3 separate regions of the Homo sapiens genome follow, and regions 1 and 2 are each linked to region 3. The links are contacts of gene promoters, found by promoter capture Hi-C in blood cells and fetal thymus (Javierre and others, 2016). All regions are on one chromosome and are shown on one strand. The core of a region is centred on a gene start or on the middle of the fragment in contact, and the rest is flanking DNA. Distances in the headings are between cores, read along the strand shown.

Region 1 (4,572 bases), core at 1,366-3,865, 550 kb after region 3:
CTGATTAAAAGATGGGCAAAGGACCTGAACAGGCACATCCCAAAAGAAGACATATAAATGGCCAACAGTTTATGAAAAAATACTCAACATCACTAATCATCAGGGAAATGAAAATTAAACCCGCAATAAGATATTAGCTCATACCTGTTAGGGTGGCTACTGGAAAGACAAATGTTAACAAGTATTGGCAAGAAAAGGGGAACGCTTACACACTGTGGGTGAGAATGTAAATGGGCACAGCCATTATGGAAAACAGTATGGAGGTTCCTCAAAAAATTAGAAATAGAACTACCATATGATCCAGCCATCCCACTACTGGGAATATATCTCCAAAGGAAATGAAATCTGTATGTCAAAGAGATATCAGCATACCCATGTTTATTGCAGCATTATTCACAATAGCCAAGATATGGCATCAACCTACGCGTCTAACAATGAATAAATGGATAAAGAAAATGTGGTATATATGCAGGTATATTTACACAAGGGAATACTATTTAGCCATAAAAAGCAGGAAATTCTGTCATTTGCAAAAACATGGATGAACCTGGAGAACATCATATTAAGTGAAGTAAGCCAAGCACAGAAAGACATATGATCTCACTCTTCAGCCAAATCTAAAAAAGTTGATATCATAGAAGTGGAGAGTAGAATCGTATTTACAGATCTGGGGTAATGTGGGTGAGGGAGGAAGGAGGGCAGTGTTGACTGGGGAAATGTTGGTCAAAGGATACAAAATTTCAGGAAGATAAGAGAAATAAGTTCAGGAGATCTATTACACAACAGGGTATCTCCAATTAATAACAATATTCTGTAGTCTTGAAAAATGCTAGGAGGGTGGATATTAAGTGTTCTCACCACAAAAATGATAACTATGTGAGGTAATGCATTGTTAATTAGCTAGATTTAGTCATTCCACAATGTATACATACCATAAAACTTCATGTTGCACATGATAAATACATACAATTATATCTGTCGATTTAAAAAGAAAGAATTTCTGTCCTAGATCATTTGAGCCCCTCACTCATTTTCTTAATATACAACCAGCAGTCGCAATGAATCACATATTCCCAATGCTCCTGTTCTGTAGAGAGTCAAGGGGAATGACTTAAAATGACTACACAAAAAACAACAGTTAAAACATATTAAACATTATTATATGCCTAGCACTGCTCTAAGGGGCTTTACGATATTAATTCATTCTAATGACAGAACCAATATTCCAACCCAGATACTCTGGATCCACTCCCCTATTCTTAACCACAACAGTGTACTGCCTCTCACAGTACACACACACACACACACACACACACTCACACACACACGCCTAAAACACAACTGGAGCTGCCAAACCTCAGAGAGATCTGGCAAGTATTACAAATATCATCTCATGGACTCCCTGGAAAAATCCTGGCTCTTGTTGATACCAATTTCTGTGCGGTCACTTTTCCACTACCGAATGCCTCACAGGCAATGGAGATCATCCAACCATCTCCATTCTTCCCTGTTTTGAAAAGGAGGTCTGTAAAGACCAACTGATGTCTAGTGTGTGATTCCACCTAAACACTAATCTCCTCCTTCCCAAATATGGGTCTAAAATGGAGCTTTAATATTAACTACTGGAGGTGTATTTCTATACCAGCTTCGAAAAAGAGAGCGCACAGGAAGGTGTGAACGATTTGCCAAATTGTTTTGTGACTATTAAGTGGAAAGGTGAAGGAGGGGGCACGAATCAATTTGCATATCCCCCTAGTTTCACTGAAAATTTAAGGGGAAATCTCAATATTCTAAAATCAAAAACGCATGTCTTGAACAAATACAAAGCACAAACTCACCCTTGACTTTAGGTGTGCAGCAGTAACGCTCTCATCCTCCTCCAGGTCCTTCTTTTGGATAAAAATACGACTGGAGAAGGATACGGCAAGCGTGAGACTCCAGGCATTTCTTGGAGCGCAGACTAAGTTTGAAAACACCCTCCCTCCATAGCCACAATTTCCCTCACTTCACACGAAATAGGAAGGAAGTAAAAGGAAGAGGAATCGATTCAACCAGTACAACCAGTTTGGAGCTGGTTTCTGGGGACAGAGCTCTGAGGACGCTGTGGTTCTCAACATGTAGCTGCCCCCCTGGGGAACACTCGGGGGCACTTCTGCGCTTTCTTGTGTAAAGCTTCATTCTCGGCTCAATATCTGACCTCCCTACTGGGGCCATTCCTCTGCTGCAGTCCCCGCAGCTGTGAAGCGGAAAGAGGGAGGAAGCAGCAGGAGCCTAGGGGCACCGGCACAGTGTCACTCAGCAAAGTGCGCTGCGTCCACACGCCCTCCCGGGCCTGTGCATAGAACCTCACGCACACACTCACAGTCCCCTCCGTCACTCATGATCTCACAATCCCCCTCCTCTGATACCCGCGCACACACACGCCTGGGGATCCGGCAGATCCCGTCTGCACCCCCGGGTTCCTACTCTGAGCGCCTCCCCCTAGGCCACCCGCACTGTCGGGTCAGTCAGGCTGGAGCCCCAATCCGCAGAGATCTCCCGCAGCCACAGATCTCTTCCTCAGACGTGAAGACCTTACCCCGCTATGTCGTCGACCCCGGAGACCGGAAGTGGACTGGCGCGGTGGCCGCTGGGAAATACAGTCCCGAACAGAAAAAGCCTCAGAAGCCTTGAGCTGTGATCCGTTCAGGTTGATCCCAGCATACTATGGGGGCTGACCCCTAAGGGAGCCGAGCCTAGTGGATTCGTGGGAGTTCCAGCCCGCGGGGTGCACAGGTTGTTGCCATGAGCAAGGATCCCCATGTGAGAAGAGCGTTTCCCTCTCGGAGCGTCAGTATAATTTACTTTTTCTCTCCATGGAGAATGCAAATGAGCAGAACTTTTAAAGAAGAAAGAAGAATTTAAAGTAAAATTATGTCAACATGTAGGTGCTTTAACTCCTTTGTCTCAGACCCCAGCGATAGGCTTCCACTTCTCTGTGCTATTTGAAGGGGACTTAGGATAAATTTGAAAAGCTTGAACTAAAGAATTGGTTGGTTATATACTAGGAGAGGAAGTGTGGTTCACATTGGAGATTTCAGAATCAAATGTCCTGGATTCTTCGAGACAATGTTCCTGTTATCTGGAGAGAAAAACGTGATTCAGGACGACATGGAAACGGATAAAAATACACAGATAATTACTTGCCTTATCTTGAAGGATGAATAATTAACACTTTGTTAAAATAGTATAAACAAATGCAAAAAAGGGCTTGCTTTTCCTAGGAAGAGCCTGATTTCACTGTTGTAGTCTAACAATATTTAACTTTCAAAATCATTTTTCTAGTTTCCTATGCTACATAAGGAGGAAACATGTAATAATAAAGAGCAAAACGTCTTTTCATTCCAGAATTGTGACAGAAAACAAATAAGATGATTAACTCAACCATATCAATAATCACATTAAATGTAAATGGTCTAAACACCTTAATTTAAAAAGATTGTCAGATTGGATTTTTTAAAAAGTCAGACCCAAATGTGCATCAATGATAGACTGGATTAAGAAAATGTGGCACATATACACCATGGAATACTATGCAGCCATAAAAAGGATGAGTTCATGTCGTTTGTAGGGACATGGATGAAGCTGGAAACCATCATTCTGAGCAAACTATCGCAAGGACAGAAAACCAAACACCAAATGTTCTCAGTCATAGGTGAGAATTGAACAATGAGAACACTTGGACACAGGGTGGAGAACATCACACACCGGGGCCTATAGTGGGGTCGGGGGAGGGGGAAGGGATAGCATTAGAAGATATACCTAATGTAAATGACGAGTTAATGGGTGCAGCACACCAACATGGCACATGTATACATATGTAACAAACCTGCACTTTGTGCACATGTACCCTAGAACTTAAAGTATAATAAAAAAAGATAATTAAATAAATAAATAAACAAAAAGTCAGACCCAAATGGGTGCTACCTACAGGTAATATGTTAAATGAAAAGCACTAAAAGGTTAAGAGTAAAAGGATGGAAAAATATACACCATCCTAACACTAGTCAAAAGAAAGCTGGAGTGGCTTTATTAAAAACAAAGTAGACTCCGGACATAGACTATTACCAGAGATAAAGAAGGGCATAATAATGATAAAGGAGATAGCTCATCGAGTAGAAAAAAACAAACATAAATTTTGCTCCTAAAAGCAAAGCTTCTAAGTATGGGAAGAAAAATCTATTAGATCGAAAAGGAGACAGATCCACAATTATAGTCAGATATTTCAATATATCTCTCTTGGTAATTGATAGAACAAACACAGAAAAGCAACAGGGTATAGCAGATTTGAGCTACATATCAACTTACTTGATCTCATTTATATTTGAGAACACTCTCCTCAATGACAGTAAAATTCATCTATGTGGACAGGGGATACTTACCAGTATAGGCCATATTCTGGGCCATAAAACAAGTCTCAATAAATGTAAGAGGATTCGAGTCATACAAAGCATATTCTTTGACAAAAATGGAATTAAATTAGAACTCAATAATAGCTGAATATATAATATATTGTCCAAAGTAGTACAAATT
Region 2 (4,179 bases), core at 1-2,500, 920 kb before region 3:
GCCTCAGGGCTCAACTTCTGGCACCTCCCTCCGTCCCCAGAAGCCCTGCACCCGCCTTGCCTCCGCGGGCTGTGGCCTCCCCCCTCCTCACTCTCGCTTCCTGCCCCAGCTGCACTGCACGACTGTGCAACGGGCTCCACCCCCCCGTCCCCTGGGCTCTGAGAGCCTCTGAGGGGCAGCTTGTCTTGGGACCCAAGGGACCACCCTCAACCTCCAAGGCCCAGGGCTGGATGTAAATGTGATGCAAATGATCTTAATCGTAACTGGGTTGGAGGGGGGTGCCTTAGAACCCCCGCCCCCGTCTCCTAGGTAGTGTCTAAACCTCTGCTGGGTGCTTGAAGGTTTGGCCACAACCCGAAGGCGGCAGGTCTGCAAAGGGATGGCTATGCAGTGTACATGCCTGTTCACCTGTCACATACATGCACTTGGGTTACCTCCTCTGCACTGCGCAGGCGTGTAGACGTGCATCTGCCTGGATACCTGTGTGCACAGTACACACGTGGATGTACCCAGGACATATACCTCCACATGCATGGCACATAACTGCATTTTGTAGGCCTGCAGTGTACAAAACCTATACATAATATATAATTCATGGCAGTACAAATGGGACGCTCGCCCTCAGCTCCAAGACCGGAACCTAATGGAGACGGGGCGCGATCCGGCGAAGTCCAGGAGCCCTCACCCCAGCCCCTGCCCGGCAGAGCACAGTAGCTTTGTGGGACCCTCCTCCTGGAGCTGGGGACCAAGGGCTGAGACTTGAAACTGGAGAGCTCAGGATCCTGCACCAGGCGCCCAGGCCTGTGGCAAGAGGGACCTCAGAACACCTCCCTCGGAACTTGGCCATGGCCTAAACGTAAGGCTGCTGCGTGCATTCCCGCAGAGCTCCGTGGCCTCATGGCCGCGCGCAATACAACGCGCGCGCACGCCGCCAGAGCTCCGGGTGCTTCCCGGTGAGTTCGCGCGCGCACGCTCCCGCGCTACCGGCACTGGAACTGGGTCTGTGAGGCCCGGGAAAAGCTTAGCCCCGCCCCCTCGCCACGAGAGGCGCCTGCGCACTGGGATCCAGTAAGATTTTTCTCACGCTGTCTGTCCAGCTTGAGTGGCGCGAATGCGCACGCGCCAATTGCGCCTGCGAGGAAGAAGTCACGTGGCAGCCGGAAAGCGTGGCGGCTGCTGCTAGAGCCTTTCCCTTTACCGCACCCAAGGAGCTGGAGCGACAACAACGACGTCGTTTCCGTTTCCACCACCTCTTCCTGTTCCCGTCCTTGAGGACGCCGTGCCGGGTCAGTGTTAGCCTCCAGCCCTGGTTGTGGAAGGCGACAGAAGTCATGGCGATGTTTGAGCAGATGAGAGCCAACGTGGGCAAGTTGCTCAAGGGTATCGACAGGTCTGAGCCCGGTTGGAGGAAGCGCTCTGGCCAAGCGGGGCGGAGGAGAGGGTTTTCCGGAGACAGCAAGGGGTGTTCAGGGTCCTGGGCTTGCCGCGGGGTGGGGTTTCTCTATCCTCCTGGAGGAGGAGATGCTTAAAGAAACGGCACTGAGCTGGGGGTAGTGGCTCACGCCTGTGATCCTAGCACTTTGGGAGGCCGAGGTAGGTGGGTCGCCTGAGCCCAGGAGTTAGAGACCAGCCTGGGCAACAGCCAAACCCCGTCTCTAAAAGAAAGAAACAAAAGCACTGCAAAGGCCTAGAAGCGAGAGAATCTTGGTACCACTCAGTCTCTTCGTAAATTGCCTTAAGGTTTCCTTCTCTGCTCCGCCTCCTTTGAGTGCCTCTTAATCTCTCCCTTCTCTGCTCTATAAGTCATTCATTCTCCACACGTTTACTGAAATAAACTGTCAGTGCTAGGCAATGCTGGGAACCACAGGCGAATCAGACAGCGGCAGATCATGCCTTCACGGTCTGAGTTCCCTTTCCATAAGGGAGACAAACCTGACAGCAGACAGCGATAGCCGGGAGAGATTAGAACTGAAATGGGGGAAGCAAAGGCCAGAGTGTTCAGGTGGACATGGAGGAAGTAGGCAGCGAGGTAGGCAGGAGAGGATGGGGCTGGATCAGGGTGGAGGCCTGAACAGGGGAGGAAGGGGTGAGTAGCAGAGACATTCAGGAGGCCAGGTGTACAAGCTGCAGTGACTGACTGGCTCAGAGGTTGAGGAGGCATCCTAGGGAAGAGCCAGGGCTCCAGTGGAGTTTAGAGCTTAGGCGAGAGGTCTGGGATAAGAATAAGTTTTACTAGAGATTATACTGGACATAATTCACTACCTGGATAGAGCAAGTGGCCAGTGCCAGATTTAGAGGGGAAGGGCGGGAGGAGCAGGTTACAGTGGCCCCTTGCTCCATAAGGTGGCTGGCCTCAGCTTCTGTCTCCTCTGTGCTCACCTATCTTGATTCTCCTTTAGGTACAATCCTGAGAACCTGGCCACCCTGGAGCGCTATGTAGAGACGCAGGCCAAGGAAAATGCCTATGATCTGGAAGCCAACCTGGCTGTCCTGAAGCTGTAAGTGTCTAGCTCTCTGTCTACACTCCCATTGCAGCAACTAGCAGGGTGCCACTCCCAGTACAGGGCAAGGGGGTGGCTGGTAGTATCCTGAACAATGCAGCATCTCTTGGTGTGCAAGACTAGGAAGCCAAGGAAGTTGGGACAGGAGGAGGGATGGTTTTTGAAAAATCAATTGCCGGGCGCGGTGACTCACGCCTGTTATCCCAGCACTTTGGGAGGATGAGGCAGGCGGATCACCTGAGGTAGGGAGTTTGAGACCAGCCTGGCCAACACGGAGAAACCCCATCTTTACTAAAAAATACCAAATTAGCCAGGCGTGGTGCCACATGCCTGTAATCCCAGCTACTCGGGAGGCTGAGGCAGGAGAATTGCTTGAACCCAGGAGGCGGAGATTGTGGTGAACCAAGATCGCGCCATTGCACTCCAGCCTGGGCAACAAGACCGAAACTCCGTCTCAAAAATAATAATAAAAAATCAATTAGGGTGGCCGCAGGGGCTCATGCCTGTAATCCCAGCACTTTGGGAGGCTGAGGCGAGAGACTCACTTGAGCCAAAGAGTTCGAGACCATCCATGGCAACATAGCGAGACCCAACCCTACGAAAAAATTTAAAAATTAATGTAGCGGTGTGTGGCTGTAGTTCCAGCTACTTGAGAGGCTGAGGTGGAAGGATCGCTTAAGCCTGGAAGATTAAGGTGCAGTGAGCCATGATAGTGCCACTGCACTCCAGCCTGGGGGACAGAGTGAGACCCCTCTTTTTAAAAAAAAAAAAAAAAAAAAGAATTACCAATTTGGGTGACATGGCACAACCCTGTCTCTACAAAAATTAGCTGGGCCCAGTGGCGCATGGCTGTAGTCCCAGCTCCTTGGGAGGCTGAGGCAGGAGAATTTTTTGAGCCTGGGAGGCAGAGGTTGCAGTGAGCCAAGATCATACCACTGCACTCCAGCTTGGGCGACAGAGTGAGACCCTGTCTCAAAAATAAATAAAGGTTAATTACAGAACACATGTACAGGCTAATACATTAAGCAAACATGTAGTTTAACAAATCATTATAAATGAAAGCCTACATAATCACCATTTATGTTGCAAAGTTATTGCTAGCACCACAGGCTCTTTGCCCCCTATGCTCTATGCCAACCAATTCCCCTGCTCCCCCATGCTCTCATGGCCTGGCTTTATGTGATGGTTTACTATGCATGCATACATCTGGCTCAGCTCAGCTCAGGTTTCCCTGCTTTGAACTTGATACAGATGGAGTGCATACAGCACAAACTCTTCTGCATTTGCCATTTGCTACTCAGCACTGGGTTTGTGAGATCCATCCAGTGTTTTTTGTTTTTTTGTTTTGTTTTTGATATGGCTGCAGTTTGTTGTCATGGATGTATAGCTCTCCACTGTGTCACTTGTGTGGCTGTCCTAATGATCTCTTCTGGCTCTTGATGGACATTGTGGGTTCTTCGTGCCCTTTTTTTTTTTTTTTTTTTTTTGGAGACAGGATCTTCTGTTGCCCAGGCTGGAGTACAGTGGCACAGTCATGGCTCACTGCATCCTTAGCCTTCTGGACTCAAGTGATTCTCCCGCCTCAGCCTCCTGAATAGCTGGGACTACAGGCATGCACCACCATGCCCAGCTAATTTTACTTGGGTGCTTTCTTTCTTTCCTTTTTTTTTTTTTTTTG
Region 3 (4,591 bases), core at 565-3,064:
GATGAACTACTCTAGCAATTTTTTATTCTGCCCAAAGAAAGAGATGGGAAACAACCTAAATGTCCGTCAATATATCCCTGGTTAAGTAAATTTGGACATAACCTCAGAATGGAATAAAATGCCACTTTAAAAAATAATGAGGAAATACAGTGGTTTGGAAGGGTCAACATATGTTCTTAATGAGAAAGCAATGTATAAACCAGTAAATATAATATGCCGACTTCTGTGAAGAAATAAAACAAGTAAACCCAGATTTATATGTGCCTGTGTACACGTAAGGAAACTAGAAGGACGGAAAGGAAACTGTGGCTATTAGAGGTCATCGTTGGTACTGGATGGAGGAAAACAAGAATGGAAGGCTTTTCGCTGTATATTTTATATATTTTTTGGCTTGTGAATAGATTTTTTAATACCAAAAAAACTTTAAAAATTAAAAATTGAAAGAAAAAAGTCCAGAAATTTGACGTTCTTGAAAACATGATTTATCACATAATATATACATTTACTTTGCTTGTCACTTGAAATGCCTAAGAAAACACAAAATCAATCTTAAACTAGAAACTTCTATTGAATATGACATGAAGAGAGCACATATTCCGACAATTTCAAGTTCTTTTCATAGCCTTCCAGTCCTAATAACTCAGCGTTAACATCTTATTCTGTTCAGCACTATTTGATAATTTCTTTCATCCTCATGGGCTCTAGTATTGATGTTTCATCAGTCTCAATTTTATAAAACCATCCTTTACTTTGTAATAAAGCAATGCTGAGAGACATTTTCCATAATGCAGGGGGAAAAATGTGGATCAATCACAAACTCAAAGAACGTTACAGTTATAATGCTTTCGACATTTTTTTCTACTTCTGTGATGCTTTTTCAAGATAAGCTTCCCCCTCCCCCTTTTTTTCCCCTCCACCTGTGCACTGTCTTATCGCGATATACTCTTGACTTCTGAAAATCAAGTTGCAGGATTGGTATGACTGGAATGCAGAGGTTCTCTTGAAGTAGTGTCACCACATAACTATTCTCTATTGATAAACTTATCGCAACCAAGTTCTTCTATCAGAGGGTTGATAACTTCAGAGGCAGTCAGAGCTATCGTAAAGGTTAAAATATCGAGGTCCACCCTGTGAGGATTTCGCTGATATTCGGCATCAAACGCTGCTTCCCTTGCTCTGCAGGCTTCCACGAATCGCCTGCGGCGTTCTTCAAGCTCTTGTATTCTGCCGGGAGCAATCGGGTAATTTTCCAGATAGTGGCGGAGAAACTGCTGGTAATTGATGCCTAAAACGCTAAGTGGGTGGCGGAGACGGAGATAGGGCAACGCAGCCAGGCCTCCGTTCCCGTGTCTGGACCTGGGCCTGCCCTCGGGACCCTCTTCGTCCACTGGCTCCCCCAGCAAGCGGGCGACCTCCGCCATCCGGGCTTCCCTGGCCGCCGCCGCCGCCGGGCTTTCCCTGCCCGCCGCGGCTGCCCTGGCCAACGCCGCCGCTGCCACCGGGGCTCCCCTGGCTGCCGCCGCCGGGGCTGCCCTGGCCGCCGCCATCCGACCTTCCCTGGCCGCCGGCACCGGGCCTCCCCTGGCCGCCGCCATCGCGCCTTCCCCGGCCTCCTCAGGCTGTGCCGGGGCCGGCTCCCGCCTCCCGCGGCCTACCTCCGCCTGCGGGACGTCTCTGTCACCATTCGCCGCGCCTGTCTGCGGGACACTGCTGTCTGCGGGCAGCTTGGACATCTCAGACCGTGGGGTCAACTCGGCTGCTCCCAGAGAAACTGGAATAACTGGACAGAGCGATGCCCGGCGGACACCCCAGTGCGCGTGCGTGGGCGCTATGCGCGCTGTAAATGCAGTGTGCGTAACCGGGCGCGAGAGCATAGATTCTTACCGCAAACCCTGGGAGCAGTGCGCATGCGTACTTTCCCGGCGCCCGCCGTTCTCCAGATGCCCCCTCGAGGCCGGGAAGCGCCAACGCATCTGAAACATCCCAACGACGAAGGGCGGGGGACATTTCAACCAGTTTGATGTTTATGAGGAACGCTTACAAGATCGCTTCTTGTAGGCGTTCTCAAGGTTCTGTCCTAGGGTGTTTCTCTTTGTTCTCCAGTGATTATGTGCCACCTCTATTATATATCAAGATATTTTAGATTCATGGTCTTTTCTGGATTTTTAAATTGTTTTTCATTCATTCCTTTGCCTGTCTTCATCCATACGGATCGTCCTAGCTACCAAAGCTTTGTAATTACAGTCTTTTCGTGTTATCTTTAACATTGCATTGACTACCTTGGACATTTGTTTTTCGAATCTTATTTGTGCAATATAACATGCAGAAAAGTAAACAAAACATAAATATACAGCTGAATGATTTATCACAAAGTGAACATCCGTTTAACTACCACACAGTCCAAGAAGTGGAATATTTCCAGCATCCCAGAACCCTTCCTCTTCTTCTTATCACTATCCTTTCCTTTCTACGCAGAAGTAACAACTATGCTGATACTTATGGTAATCACTTTCTTGTTTTTCTTTTCATTTTACCACCTAAGGGTGCATTCCTAATGCTGTAGTTTAGTTTGGTTTGTATTCTGAACTTTATCTATGTGAGAAACACACTCACCTGCGTAATTTTTGTATTTTTAGTAGAGACGAGGTTTCACCATGTTGGCCAGGATGGTCTCGATCTCTTGACCTCGTGATCCGCCTGCCTCGGCCTCCCAAAGTGCTGGGATTACAGGCGTGAGCCACTGCGCCGGCCACTTTCTTCCCTTTTATGGGCTGACCCCGCCTCTACATTCTGTTCCCTTATTGTGACCTTCTAGGTGGATGAGCCCTGCAGTTTGTTATATTTGCAGGCTGGCTGCCAGTACTTAGATTTATCATGCCTCAGAAATGGACCATTTAAAATGTTTTCTCACATACACACTTGTATCTGTTTTTTTGTGCATTATTTTTATGAGATTCATCCATTCACATTTTCTCTTCCTCCCTCCCTCCCTCACTCCCTTCCTTCCTTCCTTCCTTCATTCCTTCTTTCTTTCATCTCATTCTGTTACCCAGACTGGAGTGCAGTGGCACAATCACAGCTCAACGTGGCCTCAACCTTCCGAGCTCAAATAATCCTCCCACTTCAGTCTCCTGAGTACCTGGGACTACAGGTGTACACCACCACACCCAGTTAATTTTTAATTTTTTTGTAGAGACAGGGTCTCCTTATGTTGCCCAGGCTGGTCTCAAAGTCCTGGGCTCAAACGACCCGCCTGTCTCAGCCTCCCAAAGTGCTGGGATTATAGGGTGAGCCAGAGCACTCGGCCTCCAGCCTACATTTTCATTATGGTTTATAAATACTTTATTTTCTTGATAGTTATTATATTCATTACCATTTTTTTTATGAAGTCTCGCTCTGTTGCCCAAGCTGAAGTACAGTGGTGTGATCTTGGGTCACTGCAACCTCTGCCTCCCAGTTCCAGTGATTCTCCTGCCTCAGCCTCCTGAGTAGCTGGGATTACAGGTGCGCGCCACCATGCCCGGCTAATTTTTGTATTTTTAGTAGAGACAGGGTTTTATTATATTGGCCAGGCTGGTCTCGAACTCCTGACCTCATGATCCGCCAGGCTTTGGCCTCCCAAAGTGCTGATATTACAGGCGTGAACCACTGTGCCCGGCTTATTACCATTCTTTTATGGATCTTGTAATATTAAAACATGCATCTTATATACTGACTCTCCAATTAATTTCCCTTTGTTCTGATTAATGTGAACAAACAAAATAATTTGATTTGATTTTGCTGGTGGTGGTCCCCGTCATGATGCCATGATTCATGACCATCAACAAATGACTTAAGTGACTTATCGTTCTCTGCCCTATCAGAAGTAGCTATTCTGAGGCAGTAAGGTCTCATCCACAGAGCACAAGACTGCATTTTAATTTTCCTGGTCCAAGCACCAAATTAATAAAACACAACAGCTAGTCTACTTGCTGCTTCCCACCAGCATCTCTGCAATCACTAAGTGTGCGGCTCCTTTAAGGCAGCTCCCAGGCTAGGCTGGAGACAGATCTATTGTTCTCACCCTCAGGCTGCCTGGAGAGTCACAAATATTTAACAAAGGAAGTTCCAGACTTAGGTGACAACATATATTATCACAGGAAGAAGTAGAAATCATAGTAATTTGCTGTAATCCTACAGAAGCGGATATAATCTTGTTCTCTGGACTAAGAGTCACCTTACAGCAGAAGCTGAAAGGCCCTCTGATTTTCTAAGAATAGAAATTGCTCTAAGTAAAATGATGGTTTATTAGATCCGGAAGTGATATAAAAATGGTTCTAGGAAAATGAAGTGAACTAAAATAAGAAGCTACAAATAGAGGAAGGCAGAAAAACTTGGTGATAATGTGAGGGGATACAAACAAAAATTTGAGAGGTAGTCCAGGTTTGCTGTTGCTCCCAAGACTGTGCCTGCGGTGGCTGCAGCATCTTTGTAATTCACTGCCACTATTTCGGGATGACTTGAGGATGATTGTAACCATGTTGTAGACTAAACCATTAAGGCAGCTGGGATCAGGGGCTCCATATTGCTTAAAATCTTTACAGCAGAGGTG

What was found. Contacts are between HindIII fragments. The CHiCAGO score rates a contact against its expected background, and 5 or more counts as called.
Region 1: the fragment with the promoter of ZNF780A here is called in contact with the fragment with the promoter of EID2 in region 3 in 2 of 17 cell types (erythroblasts and fetal thymus); the score reaches 5.8 in erythroblasts.
Region 2: the fragment with the promoter of EIF3K here is called in contact with the fragment with the promoter of EID2 in region 3 in 6 of 17 cell types (fetal thymus, naive B cells, total B cells and 3 more); the score reaches 16.1 in fetal thymus.

Annotation. Positions count from the first base shown.
Region 1 is chr19:40,088,328-40,092,899 of GRCh38, forward strand. It overlaps ZNF780A (zinc finger protein 780A), which reads right to left and starts at 2,616. Exons shown (of 6, transcript NM_001142578.2): 1 at 2,579-2,616; 2 at 1,839-1,908. RefSeq lists an enhancer at 2,349-2,890 and a silencer at 2,438-2,767. The HindIII fragment of the contact is 842 bases long and covers 2,171-3,012 here.
Region 2 is chr19:38,617,938-38,622,116 of GRCh38, forward strand. It overlaps EIF3K (eukaryotic translation initiation factor 3 subunit K), which reads left to right and starts at 1,251. Exons shown (of 8, transcript NM_013234.4): 1 at 1,251-1,390; 2 at 2,400-2,498. The coding sequence starts at 1,332. It overlaps MAP4K1 (mitogen-activated protein kinase kinase kinase kinase 1), which reads right to left and starts at 16. Exons shown (of 31, transcript NM_001042600.3): 1 at 1-16. RefSeq lists an enhancer at 540-589. The HindIII fragment of the contact is 6,969 bases long and covers 1,019-4,179 here.
Region 3 is chr19:39,538,347-39,542,937 of GRCh38, forward strand. It overlaps EID2 (EP300 interacting inhibitor of differentiation 2), which reads right to left and starts at 1,815. Exons shown (of 1, transcript NM_153232.4): 1 at 361-1,815. The coding sequence starts at 1,733. The coding sequence ends at 1,023. RefSeq lists a silencer at 1,520-1,599 and an enhancer at 1,571-2,070. The HindIII fragment of the contact is 1,343 bases long and covers 886-2,228 here.